2 separate regions of the Homo sapiens genome follow, and region 2 is linked to region 1. Evidence: promoter capture Hi-C in 16 types of primary human blood cells and fetal thymus (Javierre and others, 2016). All regions are on one chromosome and are shown on one strand. Each heading gives the region's core, a stretch centred on a gene start or on the middle of the fragment in contact. The rest is flanking DNA. Distances are from core to core; before and after follow the strand shown. Region 1 holds the start of WBP1 (WW domain binding protein 1). Region 2 holds the start of EGR4 (early growth response 4).

Region 1 (5,638 bases), core at 2,047-4,546:
GTAGATGCTCTTGGCTATGTCAGTCTTTTTCCCTTGCTGCTGCGACTGCTGGACCCCACCTCATCCCGCCTTGGGCCCCTGCTGGACATTCTAGCCGACAGCCGCCATCTCTGGAGCCCCTTTGGTTTACGCTCCCTTGCAGCCTCCAGCTCCTTTTATGGCCAGCGCAATTCAGAGCATGATCCCCCCTACTGGCGGGGTGCTGTGTGGCTCAATGTCAACTACCTGGCTTTGGGAGCACTCCACCACTATGGGCATCTGGAGGGTCCTCACCAGGCTCGGGCTGCCAAACTCCACGGTGAGCTCCGTGCCAACGTGGTAGGCAATGTATGGCGCCAGTACCAGGCTACAGGCTTTCTTTGGGAGCAGTACAGTGACCGCGATGGGCGAGGCATGGGCTGCCGCCCTTTCCACGGCTGGACCAGCCTTGTCTTACTGGCCATGGCTGAAGACTACTGAAGGGAGGGAGAGGAGGGGAGCCAAGACACTCATGCCACTCTGGCTCTGAAGGGACAAAGGCTTCTGGCTTTTGCCCCCAGCCCCTTGGATACCAGTAATTCAAACCTTCCTCATTTCATCTCAGGTGTCTCCTTGCTGTCATCCCACATAGCCCTGGGGTGAATGTGAATCCAGAGTCTATTTTTCTAAATAAATTGGAAAAAACATTTTGAACTCTATTGCTTTTGCCAGATTTGCCTCACCAAGAGGCCTTAGGTCAGTCCAGGCCTCAGCACTGTCTGCTGTCCTCAGGGAAGGTGGGGTCAAGTGGCCATAACCTGTCCCCTTCAAACCCAGTCAGGTCAAGTGCAATGCAGTGAGTTGAGCTTTAGTCCACCCAAATCCACAAGTAGCTGGTTCACATCTCTTTAATGAGATCAAAGGCTCCTGTGTATGTCCTGCGGGGGTAAAGCTAGCACAGTCCCCCAATACTGCCCCTCTCCAGCCCTTTCAGGCAGATTCTAGGTAGGCAGGGAGGGGCCAAAGGAACGCAAGGAGTTGGGACTAGGGCTGTTTCTGGTGGGCAAGTAACCCATCCACCCTCTCAAAACTACTTATGGGATGTCCCCTTCACTGGAAGACAGCCCCATGGGAAAGATCTGCGGTACAGACTCTGGGGGTAGTGCACACGGGGAGTAGTCCTCCAGATCTGGCAGGGTGGCACTAACCCTCACCTCCTTGACTGGCTCACCCTCACCGGAGGCAGGACAAGGGCAGAGCTCAATACCGGAGTCGCCAGTTAAACGGCGATAGCGGCAGGAGGGGGGTGTGGAGGCAGGGGTCACCCCTGCCCCGGGCTCACCCTCCTGATGAGGGGGGGCACTCTGGTGGGAGGAAACACCTTCCACATTTGTTCCTTCAAAGTGGGCAGGGCAGCTGGATGAGGAGGAACAGCAGGTTTGTTCACTGGAAGCAGTCAAGGGGCGGCCTGGGGCCACAGTATAAGGGGGGGGTGGTGTGCCTGGGCGGTGAACCACATCCTCGTAGGCTGGGGGCTTGAAGGTGCTGAGGAAGCCTGCAGGGGAGAAAATTGGCATGATTGGTTGAAGACAACCAGGTATAGGGTGCTAGTTTTTATATTAGGGAAAAATACTTTGAAATGTGTGGAAAAGGGAATGTGAGACGATTTGGGGTTCTGGTTTGGGGAGGGCCACTGGTAGCTGACCCAGGGCATCAAGTCACTCACGAAGGTCAAGCAGTGAACCGGTAGGGAAAGGACCAGCCCCATGGCATGCCCCATGATAGGCCAACAAGTTGATTTCACGCTGCCGCTGCTGTTGTTGCAGCCTGAGTTTAGCTCGTCGGTGGCGGAAGGCGCAACAGCAGCTAAAGAGGATGAGGACAGTCCAGAGCAGCCAGAACCCTGCAAGAGGCAAGGAGGGAGCAACTCAGGCATCTTTCATGCAGAGAAGGGGCCCTGAAGGCCGAAATTCTGAGGTCCAAGGGAGGGTGGACACAGGGACCTGGAAATAGCCCTCTTGGAGACTTACACCAGAGCTCATAGTAGTAGGTGCAGCAGCCAGTCTCCCCGCAGCAGTGACCACTCTCACAGAGGTAGGGCTGGTTGTTCACTCCTGGGCACAGCTCTCGAAGCTGCGGGCAAGGAGGCACTTAGAACTAAGGGGGATTCCAGCCCAGGGCACTGTCCACCCCCACCTCCTGCATGCACATACACAATCCCACCCTGTGAACCAAGTTCAGCTTGGAGAGATGGGGGAAGTGGAGGATGCTGAGAGGAGTGTTGAAATATCTGAAGGGCTGTCAACGTGGAAGAGGATTTGGAATAGCAAGAATCAGTCTAGAGAACAAGACAAAAGTGTGGACATACAAAGAGGGAGATTTCAGCTCTGCATATATGAGACTTCCTTCACACTCAAGCCTCACTCTCCCCAACCCCCCTACCCCCATCCCCTCGGTGCTTTCTGTTAAGGGAGTGTTTTGGCAGAAGCCAGAAGACAGTCTGAGATAATCTCAGTCTCAGACAACGGGTAGCGGTAGGTCATTTCCAAAGCAAGTTGCTTTCATTATCCTGCGCGGTTCACTACCCCCCACCCGCAACTGGATCTTTCCACCCCTGGGCCTCAGGCTCCCTAGGATAGAGGAGGGGCAGTGTGAGACCCAGAGCAGTGCTCCCAACCAGATGGGATTGCTGTGGATGATAAAGGATGGCATCCAGGGCGCGAGTCTGGGTTCCAGCTCTTCTCCAAATTGCTCCCTCAAGAGAAGACGCTGCCGGACTCTGTTGTGACAATAGGCACATAGAAAAAGATCACAAATAACTGTTGCAAGACAGAGGGAGCCTCCCTGGGACCTCACTATGCCTCTGGTCACTGGAGAGCCACCGCAAGCTTCCACTGCAGCCATGGGATGGGTTCTATGAGGCTACAGGCAAAGTCAGCTGCATCTACGTTACAAAGTTTAGACAAAGAGTGGAAGAGACATGTTTAGGAACTTCACAGTACCTTTGGCTCCGTGAGTTCCTCCCCCACCCCCAAAAGGAAGGGACAAGGAAAGGGGAAAGAGACAAATGGCTGTCGTGATAGGTTTTGGAGCTATTGGGATACCTGCTGTTGCGGCGCCCGAAGTGCCCCCCAGGCCTCCTCGCTGCCGTTCCCGCTGCTGGCCCGAGCCATACCTCCACCTACAGCCCCCTGAGGACCACAGCCTCCTCTACCGCCAGCCGCCCCGCCCCTGCCACCTCTGCTGCCACCGCCATGGTCCCTGCCCGGCCCATCTTCGCTGAGGCCACCATCACTCCGCGGCCGGAGCTTCCATCCGGGCAGAACTCCACCAACTAGGACTCAGATTGCTCTGCCCTACCAATCATCATCGTCCCTTGACGGACGGGCCAATAGGAACAGATCAGAGGTTTCTCCCTGTGACCAATCCACAGCAGCGCCTCCGCCGCTCACCCAGACAACAAGAGCTTGTACAGACAAAGAGTAGGTGAAGGTTCGACCCACGGCCCTGACTGACAGCGGCAATAGCCAATACAGACAACAGAACAGGCTCTGGCATATCAACCAACGAACAGCCGCCCCGAAGAGCAAGGTTGCCGCTGATTGGCTTGCGGTATGTTTTCGGAATGACGCCAAAGGCCGAAGCACGCCAGGTAATCCCGGCTGGAAGAGGCGGAGTCCCAAAAGTCGGTCCGCTGGTTTGCAGCCTGGTTTTTTGCGGTGGTTTCCAAGCCCCAGGCATCGACGCAAGCTCCGACAGGGGCAAAATACGTGTATACCGGAGACTGGTCTGCCCACAACATCCCACTCCCCCAGTTCTGTACAAGCCGAAGCACCGGATGTAATTTAATAGGGTGGGGAAGATACTCAAGAGCGGGCATGGGACGGGGCGCAGAGTCCGGGTTAAGGGCCTTACGTAGCCAAAAGGGGGGATCCAGGACCCTCGGGCCCCCCCAGCCGCATCTGCAGGTTGATGCGGTAGCACTGAAGACTACAGAGTGCCTGGCCTGTGCGGGAGCAAGCGTAGCGGCGCGGATGGGGACAGCCGGGGACAGAGCAGCGCGGCGGCGGGCCTGAGGGGGATGGCCGCTGAGACACTGCCGTGGGGGCGGGGACGCCAGGTGGGAAGGAAAGGGTGGAACCCTGTGCTCCGCTGCAGTAGCGCACCATGGGGGCCGGAGCCGCAGCCCGCCCTCCCCGCCGCTCGCCCCGTGCGCCCCCCCGGCCTCCCCGCCCACTGGTCGCCGCAGTCTTGGTGAGGCGCTCGATAGTCTGGTTCTTGTGCTCTTCTGCCCGCCGCGCCGCCTGGAGCCGCCGCTTCCGCGCCCGCTCCTCGCGCTTCAGCAGCATCTCCTCTGTGAGGGCGGGAGGTGGGCAGCCCTCAGCTACAGGCAGCGGCAGCATAGGGGAAGGTTGACTCCGCGCCTTCTGGAGCAGAGCTCGCTAGGGAGAGACAGAGACGGGGTGCTGTCTGAAAATGGAGGAAGATGGAGAGGCGAGGTCGGCCAGATCGGGGGAGGGGAAAGAAGGGACATGGAAGGCAGGGTCTTGAGCAGTGCAGGCCTTCGGAGGCGGGATATTAATTAATGAGCACCCTCTCCAGGACACCTTCCATAGGTTCCTCTTCATAAATACTGCCTCCTCCCAGATCTCCTGACATTTAGCTTTAGGTCCTTATCTCTCAAGGGGAGAAGCATCAGTAATGTTACCTGCCTGACCTGTGCACCAAAACTGTACCAGCTTTCCCAGAGGTCTGTTGTTATTTTTAATCTTATCTCAATAGAGAGTATCAGGTGGATAACTGCTCAAGCCAAAATCCCAGGCTTAGCCTTGATATATTTTCTCTCCATTCCCCTCCCCACAAGTATCTACTTCCAAAATATAGCCATAATTCATCTGATTTTCTCCATCTCCACCACTTTCGTCTTGGTTAAAGCAACCACTGCCTCTCAGCTGATTACTTCAACAGCTTCCTAGTTGTTCTCCATACTTCTATCTCTTGTCTCCACGAAGATTCATTCTCTACAAAGATGCCAAAGTAATCTATTGAAATGTAAACCAAGTATGTCACTTCTCTGCGTACAGCCCTTCAGTGGCTTGTCCACTTTTTCTTCTCCTTTGCTAGACATGTTCCAGTCTCAAGGTCTGTGCGCCTGCTGGTCTCTGCTCAAAAGCTCTTCTGGTATTGCAAATGTTATCTCTTCAAAGAAGCCTTCTCTAACTACCCTAATGTCTCTCTTCCATCATTTCTATCTGTTTGTTTACGCCACTTTCTATTTCATCACCCTTTTCTTTTTGTCATAAACCATATAGCTTTTTGAAATTATTTACTTATTTACTTCCCAGCCCCCCAACACACACACTAGAATACTAGCTCCAGGAGAACAGAAACTTTGTCTTTTCTCTACTATCGATATCCCCAATGCCACGCAAAGTGCGTGGGTCGTGGAGAGTTCTCAATACTGTATACATTTGGTGAGTGAATAAACAATGAACCAACATACCTGTCGAGCAGTAAGCAGCCGCTCATTGATCTCCTTCTTGAGGTCTCCATTGTCATCCAGCTCCCCCTTCTCCAGGGCATCCAGCCACCTCTGTTCCTCCTCTTCCTCCTGACCCCCTAACCCTCCTGATAGGTCCCGAAGTGGAGAGGGAGAGAGATTACTGTCTTCATCTGGGAA
Region 2 (6,426 bases), core at 2,025-4,524, 1.2 Mb after region 1:
GAGATCCTCCATCTAAAGCCATCCAACAGTGAATCCTTTTGTAAAATTAATTATCTTTTCCTAAATTGTCTTATAGAGTAGGCTAGCCTGGACTTGACTCTCAGCTCTACCACTGACTAGAAGTGTGGTGTCGATCACGTCATTTGACCTTTTTGAATCTGTTTCCTCATCTGTGAAATTGGTCTCCAATTCCTTACTCCATAGAACTTTTGTGGAGATTGAATGATAAAATATTTGTAAAATGCTCAATGTATGTGATTTCCCTTTTTTCCCTTGTGTACATTTGTGTTTTTATATTTGAAGTGTGATTTAAATGGAGCTCATAGATCTAAGCTCTTCTCTCTTCCTTCCCTTCCCAAAGACTTTTATTTTATCTGGGCCCAGAATCTCTTTGTAAGCTGTTAAAACGTAGGGAGAAGAAGGGACGAGCTGGGAAGAACTACAAAATGCTCAGCCCCCTTTATATTCCCTCCCAGTCTTCAGAGAGCCAAAGGCAGATGCAAATTGCCCTCCAGAGGTAGCCATCCTCTGTGCCTGTGAGTGTGTGTATGTGTGTCCATTGGAGGTAAGTAGCATAGACATGGGGGTGTGAGCCATCCCACACCCAGAGCACAAGCTGTCTCTTCCCTATCTCCTTTCCTAATCACTCCTACCCACCCCCGAGCCCTGCCCCCAGGTCTGGCCTCTAACACAAGAAACTTTGGTGACTTGGACCCTTGTCCTAACACAGACCTAGTCCAACAGCCCTTGGCAGAGAGAAGCAATGGCTTGGCAACTCACCAAGAGAGTAGGGGAATTATCTGTGACTAAGAAGGAGGAGGAATGCTGTGGCAGAGGGAAGAACAGCAGAAGGGATGGGCAACCTGGGGCTGACCAATCTGGCCCGACGGGGCGACCTGGGGAGACCTGGACACCAGCCCAGTCAAACTCCTCCCCTCCTCCTCCCTCTCAGGCAGTAGGATGCCAGAGTGGATTTGAGACATGTGTGCCCTGTGTGTCTGGTGTGGGCTCACCTGGCCTTGGCAATGCATTTGGATTAGAATCAAACCCTGGATCTGAAATAGAGTATAAGGAAAATCGTGCTTGGTGTGTCCAATCTTTACAGACATCTGCTGGGTTTCTGCATTTCCTACATGCTCATATATGTGCTACTAACACAGAACCATAGGTGTAGCCATTTAGTAAGACACACTGCAAGTGCATGACCCTGTGAGAACCTTTATATGATTTGTGGACTTCAGGAGAAGATGCATACAAGTGTGTCAGCATATGTTTTGCAGGTGATTGTGTGAAGGGACATATTCTGTGAAAACACTTAATAAGGTCACTGTGGGATGAGGAGTGGGCACCTAGTGCTGGAGATGGGGCTCAGGGTCCCAGCAGACATAAAACCAAAGTCTACCTTCTGGCCTGTAATAGGCACTTAAGAAATGAATACTGAATGAATGAACATTGAGAAACTGAATGGATGTTTGGATAATGGACATAGGGTGAAAGGACTGAGAATGTGGTGGGGTTTGGGCATTCTTGGGCTCTCTCTCTCTCTCTTGAAAAAGAGGGTACAGGGGTGGAAGAGAGGCTGGGAGCTATACTGCCCATGATGCTGAGTCCACCACCCCCAAAGGGCTTTGTTTCTATTTCAAAAAAGGAGAGAAGGAAGGAGGAGCCCTAAACCTGCCCACCTTACCCTCCAGCACACAGAGTCTCAGGAATTGATGCTCTTCATAAAGAAGAACATGCTATTCCATGTATTTATTTAATCCTTCCCCCCCATGTATTTATTTAATTTGGTTCCAGAAAGGAGTTAAGTGAGCTATAATACAAAATAAAATAAACATTTTAAAAAGAATGAGAGAATGAGACAGAGGGAAAACCACAGCAGAAGAGAGATGAGACTAGGAGAGTAGGCAAGCTTCTTTGCTGGAGTTGGCTCTGATGCTTCTGCAGCCAAGATTCACAGCCTCCTTAAGGCTAGGATTTTTTTTTTTTTTCTCAAAAGAAGCCCAATTATTTCAAGTACTGATTCCAGGGAGATATTTCCCACGGATTCCCTGTGTGTTGCTGGGATCAACATCCTTAGAGCGAAAGCCATTTGTATGAAGGCAGAAAAAATGTTCTGCAGAAGCATCTCATACCCTGTGGGTGAGGGAGGAGTGAGCAGGAATTGGCCCTACTTTTCTGGAAGACAATTTGCCAGTTGTCTATCAAAATTTTACATATACTTTGGCACACAATTACACTCGTTGGAATTTATCTCACAGACACATTCACATTTATATAGTCAAGGATGTTGACTCCAACAACATTGGTATAAGTAAAAAGTTGGAAACTGCCTACATGCTCATGGATAGGGGACAAATCGACTAACTCAAGGTCCTCCCTTACAATGGAGTACTATACAGCCTTGAAAAAGAATGACAAGATCTTTATGTCAGGACATGGCACAATCTCTAAGTTATTTCAAGTGAAAAAATAATAATAATAATAATATTGCAGAACAATGTGTATGGTTGGATATACATAAAATTCTTCTGAAAGAATACCCAAGAAACTTAAATGTGGCTACCTCAGGAGCTAGGAATGAAGGTAGGTGGAGAGGAGGGACTTTTACTTTTCAATTTAGAATATACCCTGTTGTGCTAGTTGACTTTCCTCCTACTGTTAACAAGTATTACAGTCCTTTTTAATTTAAATTATTTTTCCTAGCACAAATTTAAAAAAAAAAAACTTAAAATGGAAAAACACACAGGCGTGAGCAAAAGAAATGAATGGCAATAATCTCTGTGGTTTACTGAGTGCGCCTGGACATTTATGTGCTCTCAGTTTCTCTCCACAGGAAATGCACAGGTGAGAAACTGACGTTAAGGGGGACTGAGTGTCAAGCTAGTTAGTGGCAGAGGGCAGATTCAAACCCAACACGGTCCTCCCCTGCTGCCCCTCGGCCTCTGCCTCCAGGTGGGAAGCGCATCTACCGGACGGTCGGCCCGGTGAGGCGCAGCGCCCCAGACTGGCGCATCCGCGGCCCCAGCGCTCCACGCCTGGGGAGCGCGCGCGCACGCAGCGGCGCGAGCCTGGCGGCGGCGGCGACAACAACAACGTCACAGCTCGAGCTTTCCTTTTCGGGAGTCCCCGGCACACATCCTGTGTCCATGTTTGGGCATTTACGTCACGGCGGCAGGGCCGGGGCCTCCCAAAATGGCAGTGGCCCGGGGAGTCGGAAGCCCGGAGCCAGCGCCGCCGCAGCTATATAAGTGGGGGGGCTGTGGGCTGGGGGAGCCCGGCAGCGCTTTGGAGAGGCGAGGAGCCGCCGCCCGAGGCCGGTGCGGGCGAGCGAGGGCGCCGCGGCTCCCCGACTCCTTTCCCAGAGGTGAGTGCCCGAAGCCAGGAGCCCGGGCGCCTAGGTCTGTGCGCTGCGGGGAACCCCTACCGCCAGCCTCCCCGCCACCCGCGCGCCCCCAAGCCCAGCGGGCGAGGCCCCGGGCGCCCCACAGCCGGCGCCGCGCCATGCTCCACCTTAGCGAGTTTTCCGAACCCGACGCGCTCCTCGTCAAGTCCACTGAAGGCTGTTGCGCCGAACCCAGCGCTGAATTGCCCCGGCTGCCTGCCAGGGACGCTCCCGCGGCCACCGGCTACCCTGGAGGTAAGGAGGGCGAGCAGGGGTGCTCAGACGACGACGGCGCAGCGCGGGGGCGCACCATACCTGAGAACCAGGAGGGACTGGGACATTGGAGCTATGAGAATAGGGGCGATGGGAAGCTTAGGAGTCCTGGGGTGCGCACCCCCATTCCCACCCACACTGGGCCGCCAGCGCCTCCGCAGGAACCTGTGCGGTTATCGGAGCGCCCTTTTGCCTGTGCACGTGTGTTTTGCGTGTGCATGTTTCTATGTGCTCCTTGGGACGTATGCGGGCCCCTGCTGAATCAGAATGTGCAAAAGGCACTTTGTGTATATCCGTGGGCACCAAGAGTTTTGTAGGTAGGGGCTGTGGACTCAGGTGCACCCTTTGATGTGCCCAGAGCTGATTCCTGCTCCCTCCTCAGCAGGCGACTTCTTGAGCTGGGCTTTGAACAGCTGCGGCGCAAGTGGGGACTTAGCCGACTCCTGCTTCCTGGAGGGGCCTGCGCCCACACCCCCTCCCGGCCTCAGCTACAGCGGTAGCTTCTTCATTCAGGCAGTGCCCGAACACCCGCACGACCCGGAGGCACTCTTCAACCTCATGTCGGGCATCTTAGGCCTGGCACCCTTCCCCGGTCCAGAGGCAGCAGCGTCCAGATCCCCGCTGGATGCCCCTTTTCCTGCGGGGTCCGATGCCTTGCTGCCGGGTCCGCCGGACCTTTACTCCCCGGATCTGGGCGCTGCCCCTTTCCCAGAGGCGTTCTGGGAGGCCTCGCCTTGCGCGGGTGCCCCCTCGCAGTGCCTGTATGAGCCTCAGCTCTCCCCGCCCGACGTCAAGCCCGGCCTCCGGGCGCCTCCCGCCTCGCCAGCGCTGGACGCTGTCTCTGCCTTCAAGGGTCCCTACGCGCCCTGGGAGCTGCTTTCTGTGGGGGCCCCAGGGAACTGTGGGTCACAGGGAGACTACCAGGCCGCCCCGGAGGCTCGTTTTCCCGTAATAGGGACCAAGATTGAGGACTTGCTGTCCATCAGCTGCCCTGCGGAACTGCCGGCCGTCCCAGCCAACAGACTCTATCCCAGCGGGGCCTATGACGCTTTCCCGCTGGCCCCGGGTGACTTAGGGGAGGGGGCTGAGGGCCTCCCTGGGCTCCTGACCCCTCCTAGTGGGGAGGGAGGGAGTAGCGGCGACGGCGGAGAGTTTCTGGCCAGTACGCAGCCTCAGCTTTCCCCGCTGGGCCTTCGCAGCGCCGCCGCGGCGGACTTCCCTAAACCTCTGGTGGCGGACATCCCTGGAAGCAGTGGCGTGGCTGCACCACCCGTGCCGCCGCCGCCGCCCACCCCTTTCCCCCAGGCCAAGGCGCGACGCAAGGGGCGCCGCGGCGGCAAATGCAGCACGCGCTGCTTCTGCCCGCGGCCGCACGCCAAGGCCTTCGCTTGCCCGGTGGAGAGTTGTGTGCGGAGCTTTGCGCGCTCCGACGAGCTCAATCGCCACCTGCGCATCCACACGGGCCACAAACCCTTCCAGTGCCGCATCTGCCTCCGCAACTTCAGCCGCAGCGACCACCTCACCACGCACGTGCGCACCCACACCGGCGAGAAGCCTTTTGCTTGCGACGTGTGCGGCCGCCGCTTCGCGCGCAGCGATGAGAAGAAACGGCACAGCAAGGTGCACCTCAAGCAGAAGGCGCGCGCCGAGGAGCGGCTCAAGGGCCTCGGCTTTTACTCGCTGGGCCTCTCCTTCGCTTCTCTCTGAGCAAGAGATGGGTTTATGGGTTGGGGCGCCGCCGTTCGGCGCGCACGAGTTCCGGGCCGTTCCCCTCCCCGCTCTTCTTCCAACTCCTCCTCGCACGCCCGAGGGCCGGCCTCCGGTCCCGCTTCCAGTTTCCTTGAAGCGCCCGCCGCACACGCCCTATTCAGCACCAGCTCCGCGGACAGTTCCCGCGGTCCAGGCGCTGTCACCCTTGTCAGCCGCGCTTTGGGGGAAGTCTTCTGAGACCACCCAGTGAATAGGCACTACCCTGGGATTCAAGACAGTCTTTTGTAACTGGCACACGCCCCACGCCTTCCTCTATAACCCCCAGAGACAGGCTGGGGCAGCGCCAAGGCGGTCTCGCGCGGGACTTTGTACAGCAGTGTCTTATCCAGCAGCCATTGGATGTAACGTTTTGCTTTGGGTTTTTTTTCCTTTTGTTGTTGTTAATTTTTGTAAAGCAGACGCTACTCTCAAGCAGTTGACAAAACTGTTTATTTTTGCAATTAAAATTATTGTGCTAAAAGCTTACTGAATCTGCCATGTAAGCTCCTGACCCTTCCCCTTAGCTTCTCCCCCAGGACCATATGTGCCAGAAGATAAAGGAGATCCCCACGCTCATGGGATACAGACCCTGAACATATTACACACCCACTGTCAGGCACACCTGCCAGGAACTGCGGCACAGAGTAGGCATTCAGTAAATGTGTGTTGGGTTAATGAACGAATTTAATCACAGCTCACCTAAGGGCTGGAGGTGTTTCTGGAACTTCAAAGTGGTTAAAAGGCGTAGGTGTTCAACATTATGTATATATTATTCTCCTTAATCCTCGCATTCCCAAATAAAGCAGGCATATACCTCATTTCAAAGATGTGGAAGCAATGTAGATAGCTTGCTGGAACAATGTAGTTAACCCAGGCTAGGAACAGACAGGTCAAACAAATCTGTCCAACTTCAAAGCCAACCCTCATTTTCCAACCCCAGAATGGAGACACCTAAACTTAATAGCACTGATTGGAAAGGCTTCCTACCAGAAGGTGAGAAACAGGTTTGGCAGCTAGAG

Evidence for each region. The method cuts DNA at HindIII sites, captures the fragments that hold promoters and counts their contacts. A CHiCAGO score of 5 or more calls a contact.
Region 2: a contact is called between the fragment with the promoter of EGR4 here and the fragment with the promoter of WBP1 in region 1, in 1 of 17 cell types (fetal thymus). The highest score is 6.5, in fetal thymus.

Annotation. Positions count from the first base shown.
Region 1 is chr2:74,456,096-74,461,733 of GRCh38, reverse strand. It overlaps WBP1 (WW domain binding protein 1), which reads right to left and starts at 3,296. Exons shown (of 4, transcript NM_012477.4): 1 at 3,063-3,296; 2 at 1,989-2,091; 3 at 1,685-1,861; 4 at 853-1,513. The coding sequence starts at 3,131. The coding sequence ends at 1,053. It overlaps INO80B (INO80 complex subunit B), which reads right to left. Exons shown (of 5, transcript NM_031288.4): 4 at 5,462-5,631; 5 at 3,790-4,400. The coding sequence ends at 3,870. It overlaps INO80B-WBP1 (INO80B-WBP1 readthrough (NMD candidate)), which reads right to left. Exons shown (of 8, transcript NR_037849.1): 4 at 5,462-5,631; 5 at 3,874-4,400; 6 at 1,989-2,091; 7 at 1,685-1,861; 8 at 843-1,513. MOGS (mannosyl-oligosaccharide glucosidase) reads left to right here. Exons shown (of 4, transcript NM_006302.3): 4 at 1-677. The coding sequence ends at 459. RefSeq lists enhancers at 2,864-2,973, 2,911-3,418, 3,644-3,793, 3,419-3,925, 4,424-4,493 and a silencer at 4,044-4,283. The HindIII fragment of the contact is 3,318 bases long and covers 2,849-5,638 here.
Region 2 is chr2:73,290,396-73,296,821 of GRCh38, reverse strand. EGR4 (early growth response 4) reads left to right here and starts at 3,274. Exons shown (of 2, transcript NM_001965.4): 1 at 3,274-3,640; 2 at 4,041-5,893. The coding sequence starts at 3,505. The coding sequence ends at 5,365. RefSeq lists a silencer at 2,912-2,991 and an enhancer at 4,988-5,683. The HindIII fragment of the contact is 1,844 bases long and covers 1,915-3,758 here.